3 separate regions of the Homo sapiens genome follow, and all the other regions are linked to region 1. The links are contacts of gene promoters, found by promoter capture Hi-C in blood cells and fetal thymus (Javierre and others, 2016). All regions are on one chromosome and are shown on one strand. The core of a region is centred on a gene start or on the middle of the fragment in contact, and the rest is flanking DNA. Distances in the headings are between cores, read along the strand shown.

Region 1 (3,574 bases), core at 667-3,166:
AGAAGTGAAGTAATATTTATTTTCATTGAATTTATATGTAATTTTAAATTCATAAATTCTATGGAAGATACAAAAATGCACGTTTAAATCTTGAATAATTTTTGAAAGTTTAAAAAACAGATTAAAAGAGTTAGAGTTTTTTAAATTTTCAGTTATGGTGTTTGAGTTATTAAATTATACTGATGATCATCATGAGAAGCTTTCCATTATAGTCTTGACCCTTCTTGTATTATTATTCAGTCTACAATGGATAGGCAACAACATGTCAACTGAAAAATCATAAGATCTATAAATTTAGAAAGGAGACTTTGTTTCTTATAATGAGTTACAACCTGCAGGCTGGCCATTCTGCAGGCTGGGAAGCCCAGGCTCCCACAGAGACAGTCAACAGGCACTTTGAAGGAGGTGGGGTTGGAGCAGAAGCTTTATGCTGAATGAGTTGGCTAAACAGACATATTCAACAGATTGTAAGAAGAGCTGTGAATCTTCACTAAGAGGGGTGCTGAATAAACATGCATGTGACATGCATCCCATGCTCACTGTGGAGTGGAAACTTAACATTTAAATGCATTACAGTCCCTATACATCAAAAGGAGAAGCAGAGACATGAATGTACTAGTGCTCAGTCTCTGTAAACCTGCCAGAACCAGTCCATAGTGGGTGGTCTTTTATCAGGGGAAAGTTACTGAATCGGTCCCTTGTCCAATCAAACCTGCAGTTATGACTTGTGGAACAGGAGGGTCTTGTTAGTCAACATCTGGCCATGGATGAGCTGCAATTATTTCAATATTGCTTATGTCGAGGGCAGTTCTTATTTAACAGCTAGAGAAAAATAAAAACATTGCAGCAGTTAAAACAAAGGTTATTCTTTAAGTGTAGGTGTGAGTGACTTAACTCTTGCCTGGCATGGCCTTAGGTCTTGCTTATAATTTGTTATTGCCACAGAGTCCATTCTGTTAGCCTTCTGATCTCCATTTTAACATTAATGCTGGTCAGTTGTTGAGTCTAAGCCCTCAAAGGGAGGGGGAGCCGAGCTTGGTGGCATGTGCACCTGTACTCCCAGCTATTCCCGAGGCTGAAGCGGGAGGATCGTTTGAGCCAGAGGTTGGAGGTTGCAGAGCTACGATCCTGCCACTGCACTCCAGCCTGGGGGACACAGTGAGACCCTGTCTCAAAAAACCAGGGGTGAGGGGGACGTGAAAAGGGAGGAGGTAGGGGGGTATAGCGAGGCGTGTCCGTCCTTCCGTCCCGTCAGGGCGAGGAATTCAGCTTTTAAGGTTTATCGGGGGTCCTCTTGGCCAAAAGGGGGTCCGTTCAGTCGGTTGTGGGGCTTAGGATTTAATTTTTAGTTCTCAAACAGTAATAAAGATAATGATAATCTTGACCATACGGGATGCTGTGCCAAGCACCACTTAACAAACACTGTCATCTCATTCAATCCTCACAACAGTCCTATTTTACAGATGAGAAAAGTGAGACTTCAAGGGATAACTCGCTCTAGATTCAATAAACTGACTCAAAAGCCTTTTAACATTCTGTACAATACCTTTTATGTTTGTTTATTTAACTGTCCAGTTGGGCCACTAAAGTACAGATAAAAGCTGGGGAATGTAAGCGAGACTGGTCACTTCCCTGGGGTGAGAGAAACGCTTTCAACACTATCCGTCCATCGTATCACGCCTAACGTATCCCATAGACATCCCTCACCCCTCCACCCACTCATGCCTGTTTGAAGCAAGACTATGAAGACCGAAACACACCGGGAGCCTAAGGCACCACTCCCCGCTACCTACCGAGGTGCATCCTGCAGGCTCCTTACCGCAAGCCTGCAAACTCGCCCTGCCGGGCGCGGAGTGCAATTAGGCTTTGGGGTGGTTTGGCTCTCCGGCTTTCCGTAGCCTCTGGCCCCGCCCCCTAGCAACGCGCTGGCTTGTGTTAACAACCGGCCCGGGATCAGAGGTCTGGGTCAACTGGGGGGCGGCAGCGGCGCTAAGCGGACTGTATGGCGGTGGCCTAGGCCCCTGGCGGAATTTTGGGACCTTTCGCGACTCTAGCGACTCTCAGGCTGCCTTCCCTTCTCGGTGGCGGGGCCTCTTTGGGCCCAGCGGCTGCGGGCGCACTGTAGGACAGGAAGATCCCCCCACTCTCCACCCCGCCGCCACCGGCCATGTGGACAGAGGAAGCCGGGGCGACCGCCGAGGCCCAGGAATCCGGCATCAGGAACAAGTCTAGCAGTTCCAGTCAAATCCCGGTGGTTGGGGTGGTGACGGAGGACGATGAGGCGCAGGTATGAGCAGGTGTCTGTGCTTTCAGAGGTGGAGGGGGTGGGAGTGAAGTCTCGAGACGGGGTCCAGACCTGGGGGTGGCAAGGGTGGAACTGGGGACAGGAGTGAAGATGGGGGAAGCCGCGGGATGGAGATTCCAAGCGCAGAGCTAATCCTGATCCCCCACCCCCTGCGAACTGCACCGGTTGCGAGGGGCTGGCTGTTGTCAACCATCCTGTCTGGGGACCAGCGCTGTGTGGTCCTCCTGGAGGGTCCTAGCAAACTGAGTAGGCGGGGTTTTGCCGCGCTTCTTCGAAAAGTGGTCATAGAGCTACAGGGAGGAAAGGAATCATTCTTAGCAAAATCTTGATTTGATGACCTGATCAGTTTGAACTGAACTTTTTAATACGTAGATCCCTGTTACCGAGTGATGTTCTTGATATAGATGTAAATTTTCCCATGCTTAAATTTGCTGCGACTAAAGCCTGCACCCAGAGGGGAGGAAAACGCTGTTAAATTAGAAATTAAGCATTTTTAAAATATGAAATTGGAAGCTGGTTGTTACACGTTGGGTCGGAGAGAACCGGGAGAGAATAGAGTTGATTTGTTTTATTATGCTTGTACTGTATTTGGTTTTGGGTTTGCTTTTGTTATGAATACAAAATTCACTCTTGGAAGTTGATCTGTTGAGAAATTCCATTTGAGGCCCTTGGATCTCTATTCGAGGCGGAGGTGTTTAGAAACCCCAAGTTGTTTGTTTCCTACTAGGATTCCATTGATCCCCCAGAGAGCCCTGATCGTGCCTTAAAAGCCGCGAATTCCTGGAGGAACCCTGTCCTGCCTCACACTAATGGTGTGGGGCCACTGTGGGAATTCCTGTTGAGGCTTCTCAAATCTCAGGCTGCGTCAGGAACCCTGTCTCTTGCGTTCACATCCTGGAGCCTTGGAGAGTTCCTTGGGAGTGGTCAGTTGACTGGGGAATAGAGTTGAGCTCTCTGAGGTCTGACATTTACGCAGTAACCTGCGGAGCAACAGCATTTTGCATGAGGAGAAATAGGTGTTAGGGGAATTTGCCTAATCGATTTTGTGGACCTATTCCCCTCTGGGCGGGGAGAATTTTGAGGAACAATAGCTCTCCACTCCCTGGGCTGCAAGAAAGATCAACAATACAGCCATACTCCCAGGCAAGGGGCAAAACTGAAAAGTATGTGAATTTGATAACTGATGGCTCTCAGTCTTCCTTTACTTGCTCCAAGAAAAATTGGGCAACGTTATACAAGGCAAGCAAGCGTGGATTTTTTTTTTTTTTT
Region 2 (3,730 bases), core at 495-2,994, 2.0 Mb before region 1:
GCCCCTTTTTGGCCCTTTTCTAGATAGCCCAGACTCAAGCAGAGCTTTATGGCCTCACAGACAATATACGGAGATGATGCAATCTATAGTCACTGTGTAATATATAGCAGGCTGCTTCACATTCTGATATGTAACCTGGGCTAACTAACTTGCCATAGTTATATGTTAGGTTTGAATAATATATATTTTAACAATATTTTAAAAAATTAATAGTGAAATGAGGCTAAAGATGCTTAGAGAAAATGTTTTATTTTCATTAGTTGACAACTAGTTGTTCAGTTGAATGGTAAGTTTCACACTGCATCCTAAAATAAGACAGATACTCTGCTGGCAAGTAGAAAATAGACTAATTTCATTTTTTATCTGTTAAGCTCTCTTGATAAAAAAGGCAAACCAGGCCAGTTTTAAATTTAAGAAACAGAAACATTGTCAGTGCTTCTTGTATCAACACACTTCATATTCAGAACTACTCCCAAGAGATAACATATTATCTCCTTTTCAAAGATGGGGAAACTGAAACTGGGCATTATCTATAATGACCAAACCACATAGTAAGAGGCACAAGCCAGCATTAGAATTCAGATCTTACTTGAAAGTGTACAGCTTAAAATTTTTTAAAAAATTCCTTCCATTATAAATGTAGTACCTGCTTACTGGAGAATGTTTGGAAAAGCAGTAAGAAGGAAGAAGATGAACTCATGATCCTGACTCCCAGTGGTAGCCAGATCAATGTTTTGGTACATACTTTCCGATACTCTGCTATGTGTATTTTTTAAAGTGTGAATACATGGTATATCAAAATGGATGTATCAGTATTTTAAAAACTAAAATCTGATTTTAAAAGGAAAGCATATAGAAAATCTGAAAAATACTGATATAAAGAAAATTAAAGTCATCTAGAATTCCATTCATCCAAAATAAACATTGTTAATATTTCCATATATTCCCTTAGTCTTTTTCTATCAATTTTCTTTTTATATAGTTAAGCTTATAATGTACAAGATTTTTAAGGAGAGTTAACAAAGGTTTAAATAGATGACAAAAAGGGACTTGGTGACAGATAGTATTTGCCAATCAAATTATTCAACAGGTTTTGAAGGGCGTGTGCTAAACTTCTAAGGTGAATCCTGACGTGGATTACTGGATTACCTTTTTTGTTGTTTTATTTCACCCAAGTGCGTCTATGTCATTTACCTAAGTTTTTATGTGTGGAGTATTCTTTGTAGGAGAGGAAAGATAACAGCTGTAGTCTGATTAACAGTTTTTAGTGTCTCACAATGAAAAATAAATAATGTGACTTAAACATTTTGCATACTTAAATTTACATAGAGTTTTAGCAAGAAAATAAGGCATGACTGATAATGGCTCAGGAAAGTTCTAAATGGTGTAACAGACTAGATCTTATTAAAGTTCCAAAGAATTTATTATCAAAACTAAAACAAAACTTCAGTTGTACATAAAGTAATAAACTTTACAACAGCTGTTAAGAGAAAGTCGTGATGTAAGTTTATACATATTACCGAAGGCAAAGAGGACAAGCAAAGGAGAGCTCCAGTTGGAATGTTGATTACATTCATGCAGCTTCCTCTTGATTTAAACACTCATGACACATTGAATGAACTGAAAGAAAAATCAGCATTATATGACAGACCTCAAAGCACTTATACGGCACAGCCTATTTCTGGCAGCTTACATTTGGTTTTCTAATTTGAACACGGGTAAAACAACCCCTACAACTTTCTAAGATATGAGTAAATGATAGATGGAAAAGTTTCCTTTTTTTAGGGAAGCAGTCTAATATAAAATCCACAGGGTTTCTCACATCAAAACTTCTTAGAGAAAGCAGATATAACTTCAATGGATAAATAATTTAAATAATTATTTGAATAATTATTTAAATTCCAAATAATATCCAAGACTAGAAATGGCCGTGGTCAAAGACACTTACCACAAACACAAACAACTGGAGTTTATACTGTTGTATTACGTGGGGATTTCCAAACCACACAGTATTACCCCATTACTCTAATGGAACACCTTAAACAGTTTATTGCCTTAAAATCTGCTTTATTAAAACAAATTGTAGCATGCAAGTGTATGTATGCACAGAAACAGAACAGCTAACCCTTCAGATACCTGAGATTAGAAATACCAGTATTTGCTGTGAAATGTTGGCTTCCCCGCTAAACATAAAGCAATAGATTCTGCTCTATCAGTGTTCCCTACACTACTAAGGTATTGTGCACTGCTAACCCTTGCAGCTCTATTGCAAGGTCAAGGTGATTATCCCTATTTTAGAGAAAAGGAAAATAAGGATCAGGATGTTTAGAAATCTTTTAAGTAGCCCCATCTGAAGTCAAAGCCCATGGTCTTTCTTTCCATTCCCCAGGCAGCCTTCTGATCTTTAGAAACAGCAAGGGGACTGTCAACTAAGAAGTTAACGCATGTTAAAGAGAACACACCCTTAAGCAGGTAAAATAAGCATATTCACACACACATACTAAGCTTTTAAAAGTGTACTTATAACTGCAGCAGCTGCTAAACCAAAAATACATGCATCTTATATTTTGTAATGGAGAATGGAATATTCAGTGATTACAGTCATTTCAATTCTACAAGTTTTTTTGTTTGTTTGTTTTTTGTTTTTAAATCAATGGCTGAGCAAAAACTGAAGAAACAAGTAACCAATCTCTCTAGCTTTGTTATATACATCCAGCTAATGCCATCAAAGATGGCACTAGGTTATGTTCACACTGATTACATGGCCTTACCCTACCCTTGTTTAGTTTGGCTGTTTAGTAAATAACTTGTTTTAAATTGTGATTTAGCCGGGAGCAGTGGCTCACGCCTGTAATCCCAGCACTTTGGGAGGCCTAAGCGGACAGATCACAAGGACAGGAGATCGAGACCATCCTGGCTAACACAGTGAAACCCCGTCTCTACTAAAAATACAAAAAAACTTAACCAGGTATGGTGGCACATGCCTATAGTCCCTCAGGAGGCTGAGGCAGGAGAATCGCTAGAACCCGAGACGTGGAGGTTGCAGTGAGCTGACATTGCGCCACTGCACTCCAACCTGGGCAACAGAGCGAGACTCCATCTCAAAAAAAAAAAAAAAATTGTGATTTAAGTTGTTGCCTGCCTTATGCCCTCAATGAAGAACATAGGTATGCAAAACTATTGAGCTGTTATCTATTCTCAGTGACTGACATGATTTGTTTACAGAAGACAAAAGCAGATAGTATATCTGCATAGTGTTTTTCAAGGGCATTTCTAATAGAAATCTTACAATGGCTCAGTGAAAAAGGCATTACTACTATATCTTCTTTATTCATATAGTGTCACAGCAATTAAGAAACCTGCTTAAGTGACCCAGCTAATAAATACAACAAGCTGGGTCTTGAACCCAGGTCTCTGAATGCAAATCAAATCATGGTCTCACTATAGTTAAGACTAATAAATGAAATTAATAAATTCTGGATGATAACTCTTTCTAACTTTTGAATCCCTTATGTCTCTGGCATCCTTAACCTTAAGATATTCTTAACAGCTAATTTCAAAGGGATACCCATCTGGTGTACATCCTTTTCATCTACTGTATCTCTTAATTTCTAAGACTTACATCATCATATGGGAAATTCACAACACCTTGCTGAGCAGTATCCCGTCTTCGAAAGCTGTCTGTAAAACAACACAGTAAAATTTATGGTTTTTCTTTAAATGGTTTTTC
Region 3 (3,668 bases), core at 792-3,291, 2.2 Mb after region 1:
TAGCTGGGCATGGGAATTACACTAACATAAGACAGATTTACTGGAAAAGGCATAAAAGTTTTAATATTTTTGTACATGCACAGGAGGCTTTGTAAGAAAAATAAAGACCCATAGAAGTTACTAGGCCCGAAAGCTTATATGTCCTTTTAAACAAAAAATAATAAATTGCAGGGATGTGACAAGACAAAGGGGCTTGGGCTAAGGCTGGCAAATTGTGGGAAAGTGACGAAGAACCGTATGTAGAAAGTTAATGGAAAATATGGGTTACAAATTTTTGTAAGGTTTTGTTTGTAGATTCTTCTCAGTGGCAACTCTGCCTCTGGCAATAATATTCTCCTCTTCCTGGTACAGAAAGGGCACCTTTCACAAGGGAACTTTTATGTTCCGCTTCAAACAGAAAGAGGGTGGTCAGACAGCCTTCCCTGCATCTGTTTTTGCTCCATTGCCTCTGGCTCAGAAGAATCAGTATGCCAAAGTGGCATATTTTAGGATGGCAGGCTCTAAACACCTTCAGCATTGTTCTAAAGTGAGACAACACTCTTTACCTAGTCTCCTCAGCCACTTTTACAGTTGGCCCTAATCCCCATAACAGTCCTGGAAACTTATTTTTACTGTTAAGGAAACTGAGATTTAGAGGGGAGGTGACTGAGCCACAACCCACACCCCAGAGGGCTGTTCCAAAGCCCTCCTCGAAATTGGTGCCAAGGGCAGCAGCTATAATGACAGCCAGTCCACATAGAAGTGCCTCCGTTGATCACCAATTAACAGTAAAATCTGATAATATCTCATTCCAAGGTTGTTATAAGCACTAAATGTGGTTTTGTGACATAATAGGCGTTTGTTTCTCCCCACTGCTTCCCACCACAATATATTCATCAAGACCTTTCCAAGGATACTAAGTCTAGGAAACCCAGGATCATGAAGAGAGGGCATGTTCTTCCAAGTGAGGCTGAGGAGAGACTTGTCTGGCGAGGCCTGTACTGACTAGTGACATTAAAAGAGGCGATCTGACTTCTCATACTGCTCTTGTCCCAGGCCTGCTGTTTGTCAACTGCTGGGTCCTCAGAGCCAAAACTGTTTTCCAACAGTTTTGAATTGAATAACAGCCAGCTATTCGATTTTCTCCGCATTCTCTAATCGGTATACTCTTCAGAGTCCACAGGATTTGCAACGATATTATCCAACGGCTGAAGAATGTGCGCTTGACATCTTAGGCTGTAAAATGTCTCAATTTCAATTTCTAATACATAGATGTCAGTGGATGGCATTTTCTGAACCCTTTGTCGATGTCCATAAACGGCATGCTCTGAATTCAACTAAACAAAAGTATAGACATGGGGGAGGTGTAGGGCGATGTCCAAAGTATAATTTTTAAGAGTGTAAAGGGTTCCTAAGTAAGATTGCCAGATTTTTTTTTTTTTTTTGAGACGGAGTCTCACTCTATCCCCCAGGCTGGAGTGCAATGGCGCGATCTTGGCTCACTGCAGCCTCCACCTCCCGCGCTCAAGAGATTCTTCTGCCGCAGCCTCCAGGGTAGCTGGGATTACCCCAGAGCCCGCCACTGAGCCCGGCTAATTTTTGTATATTTATTAGAGAAGGGGTTTCACCACGTTGGCCAGGCTGATCTCGAACTCCTGAGCTCAAGTAATCCGCCGGCCTTGGTCTCCCAAAGTGCTGGGATTGCAGGCGTGAGCCACCACGCCAGACCTGGATTGCCAGATTTAGCACATAAAAATACAGGACCCCCAGTTAAACGCCTCTCGGATAAACCATTATTGCATGGGATACACTCACGCTAAAAAAATTGTTCGTCGTTTACCTGAAAGTCACATTTAATTGGGCGTCCTGTATTTTACCCGGCAAATTCTAGGCCTGAGACCAAAAAGTTTGAGAACCCTGCCCCTAGGCGACAGCAAGCGGAACTGCAGCAAGCTCCCAGTAATTCCGGGTGCTGCACTTCCGGTCAGGCGGTCGGGCTGCGGGGCCCTGGGGCCAGCTCACCGCCGGAAGTCTCCGCGTCCCCCCCACCCCGGCCAGATCCCTTTCCCAGTCCTGCTTCCCAGTGCCTCGGGCCAGGGAATCCTGGCCTCCGCCTGCGGAGCCGGCGGAACCCGCTTCCCGCCTCCACGGGGCAGCGCCAGCGGCCTGGTCCTTTCACCGGCAGCTCCGTGCCGACGCTCTCACCGCTCTTCCTATCGCCGGGAGTGGCGGGCCGACCAGGGGGCGGCCGGGCTACCGTCCGCCATTCCCGTGTCTCTGCGCCCGCGGGGGCCGCCCGAGCCGGCCACCATGCCGCTGGGCCTGAAGCCCACCTGCAGCGTATGCAAGACCACGTCGTCCTCCATGTGGAAGAAGGGAGCGCAGGGGGAGATCCTCTGCCATCATTGCACTGGCCGGGGCGGCGCGGGCAGCGGGGGCGCAGGCTCGGGGGCGGCTGGAGGGACTGGGGGCAGCGGCGGCGGCGGCTTCGGCGCGGCGACCTTCGCCAGCACCTCCGCCACCCCTCCGCAGAGCAACGGGGGCGGGGGCGGCAAGCAGGTGAGCTCCTCCGGCCCCTCCCGCCGGCGGAGGCCGACCAGGTGCTAGGCGGGCGGGGACGGGCTGGCTGGGAGCGGGCGGGCGCGGGCTTCCCCGATCGCCGTGCTCCTGCTGGCTGGAACGCCCCTCCCCACCTCCTACTGAGATCTTTCGTTTGGCCCATTCCGAAGCACCTGTTATTGTAAGAAATTCAAAGCAATAAGAACCAAGATGTAAAGCCCTTAAGAAAATCTCAATATACACATGTCTACACAGTCGTATACAGTGTCATGCCACAAATGCAGGCGCTGGACCTCATTCCTTGTTAAAGGTTTTGTCATATCAGGTTATGAAGTAAGATTATTATGTCATTATTGTAAATGGCAGCTTAAGTATTCCGTTGCAGGGGGCGCCATAACCTACTACGTTCTCTGGCCTTAGGGAGTAAAGTTGTTAAGTGTTTTTCTCTATTGTAGACACAACAAATGAATAGTGTTTGTCTTGGTCAAGACTGACTCCTACTCCCGCCTCCTGCCCTATTACAAGCAGCTCACACCTTTTGGAGGCTCTGGAGACGCCTGTCCAGCGAGCTCCGAGATTCCGGGTGCTGAACTTCCGGTTTTACTTAGCCTAGTTGCTGTAATTACTTCTCTTGAAAAGCAAAAGGGCAATCTTAATTGTTAAATGCTCTTATAAAGTACATACTCTGGGATCCTTGTAAGATGATTGTACTGCAACCTTTATGCACTTTTTACTTCTTTCTCTTTTTGTTCTTTAATTTGTTTGTGTAACAGAGTAAGCAGGAAATTCACAGGAGGTCTGCTCGGCTCAGAAACACTAAATACAAATCTGCTCCGGCTGCTGAAAAGAAAGTCTCCACCAAAGGAAAAGGGAGAAGACATATATTTAAATTGAAAAATGTAAGATATTTGTGGACAGTGCCTTTTACTGTAATGACGTTGTGTGTATCCTGCCACTGCCTTCATTTCTCACCATTGAACTTGGACTCTGCCCTTGGTAGCCCTTCCTTAGTATTCTGGGGAATGGTCCAGATTCCCCAAAAGGGAATGAGCTCTGTTGCAGGAGGCTCACTGTTTATAAAGTTAATAATACTCTTTCCTTTTTGTTTTTTAGCTTTTATTTTTTCCCCT

What was found. The method cuts DNA at HindIII sites, captures the fragments that hold promoters and counts their contacts. A CHiCAGO score of 5 or more calls a contact.
Region 2: a contact is called between a fragment that was not itself captured here and the fragment with the promoter of CFAP69 in region 1, in 1 of 17 cell types (naive CD8 T cells). The highest score is 5.5, in naive CD8 T cells.
Region 3: the fragment with the promoter of GATAD1 here is called in contact with the fragment with the promoter of CFAP69 in region 1 in 1 of 17 cell types (total CD4 T cells); the score reaches 5.2 in total CD4 T cells.

The regions. Positions count from the first base shown.
Region 1 is chr7:90,243,258-90,246,831 of GRCh38, forward strand. It overlaps CFAP69 (cilia and flagella associated protein 69), which reads left to right and starts at 1,917. Exons shown (of 23, transcript NM_001039706.3): 1 at 1,917-2,287. The coding sequence starts at 2,168. It overlaps LOC107986819 (a long non-coding RNA gene), which reads right to left and starts at 1,874. Exons shown (of 2, transcript XR_007060423.1): 1 at 1,820-1,874; 2 at 1-822. It also overlaps a transcript of STEAP2 not described here. RefSeq lists an enhancer at 2,782-3,294. The HindIII fragment of the contact is 7,562 bases long and covers 422-3,574 here.
Region 2 is chr7:88,204,885-88,208,614 of GRCh38, forward strand. SRI (sorcin) reads right to left here. Exons shown (of 8, transcript NM_003130.4): 7 at 3,623-3,681; 8 at 231-1,620. The coding sequence ends at 1,594. Among named protein-coding and RNA genes, the nearest start is that of SRI-AS1, 9.9 kb to the right of the region's middle. The HindIII fragment of the contact is 1,518 bases long and covers 986-2,503 here.
Region 3 is chr7:92,445,441-92,449,108 of GRCh38, forward strand. It overlaps GATAD1 (GATA zinc finger domain containing 1), which reads left to right and starts at 2,042. Exons shown (of 5, transcript NM_021167.5): 1 at 2,042-2,538; 2 at 3,312-3,437. The coding sequence starts at 2,290. RefSeq lists a silencer at 1,962-2,731 and an enhancer at 3,162-3,211. The HindIII fragment of the contact is 4,596 bases long and covers 132-3,668 here.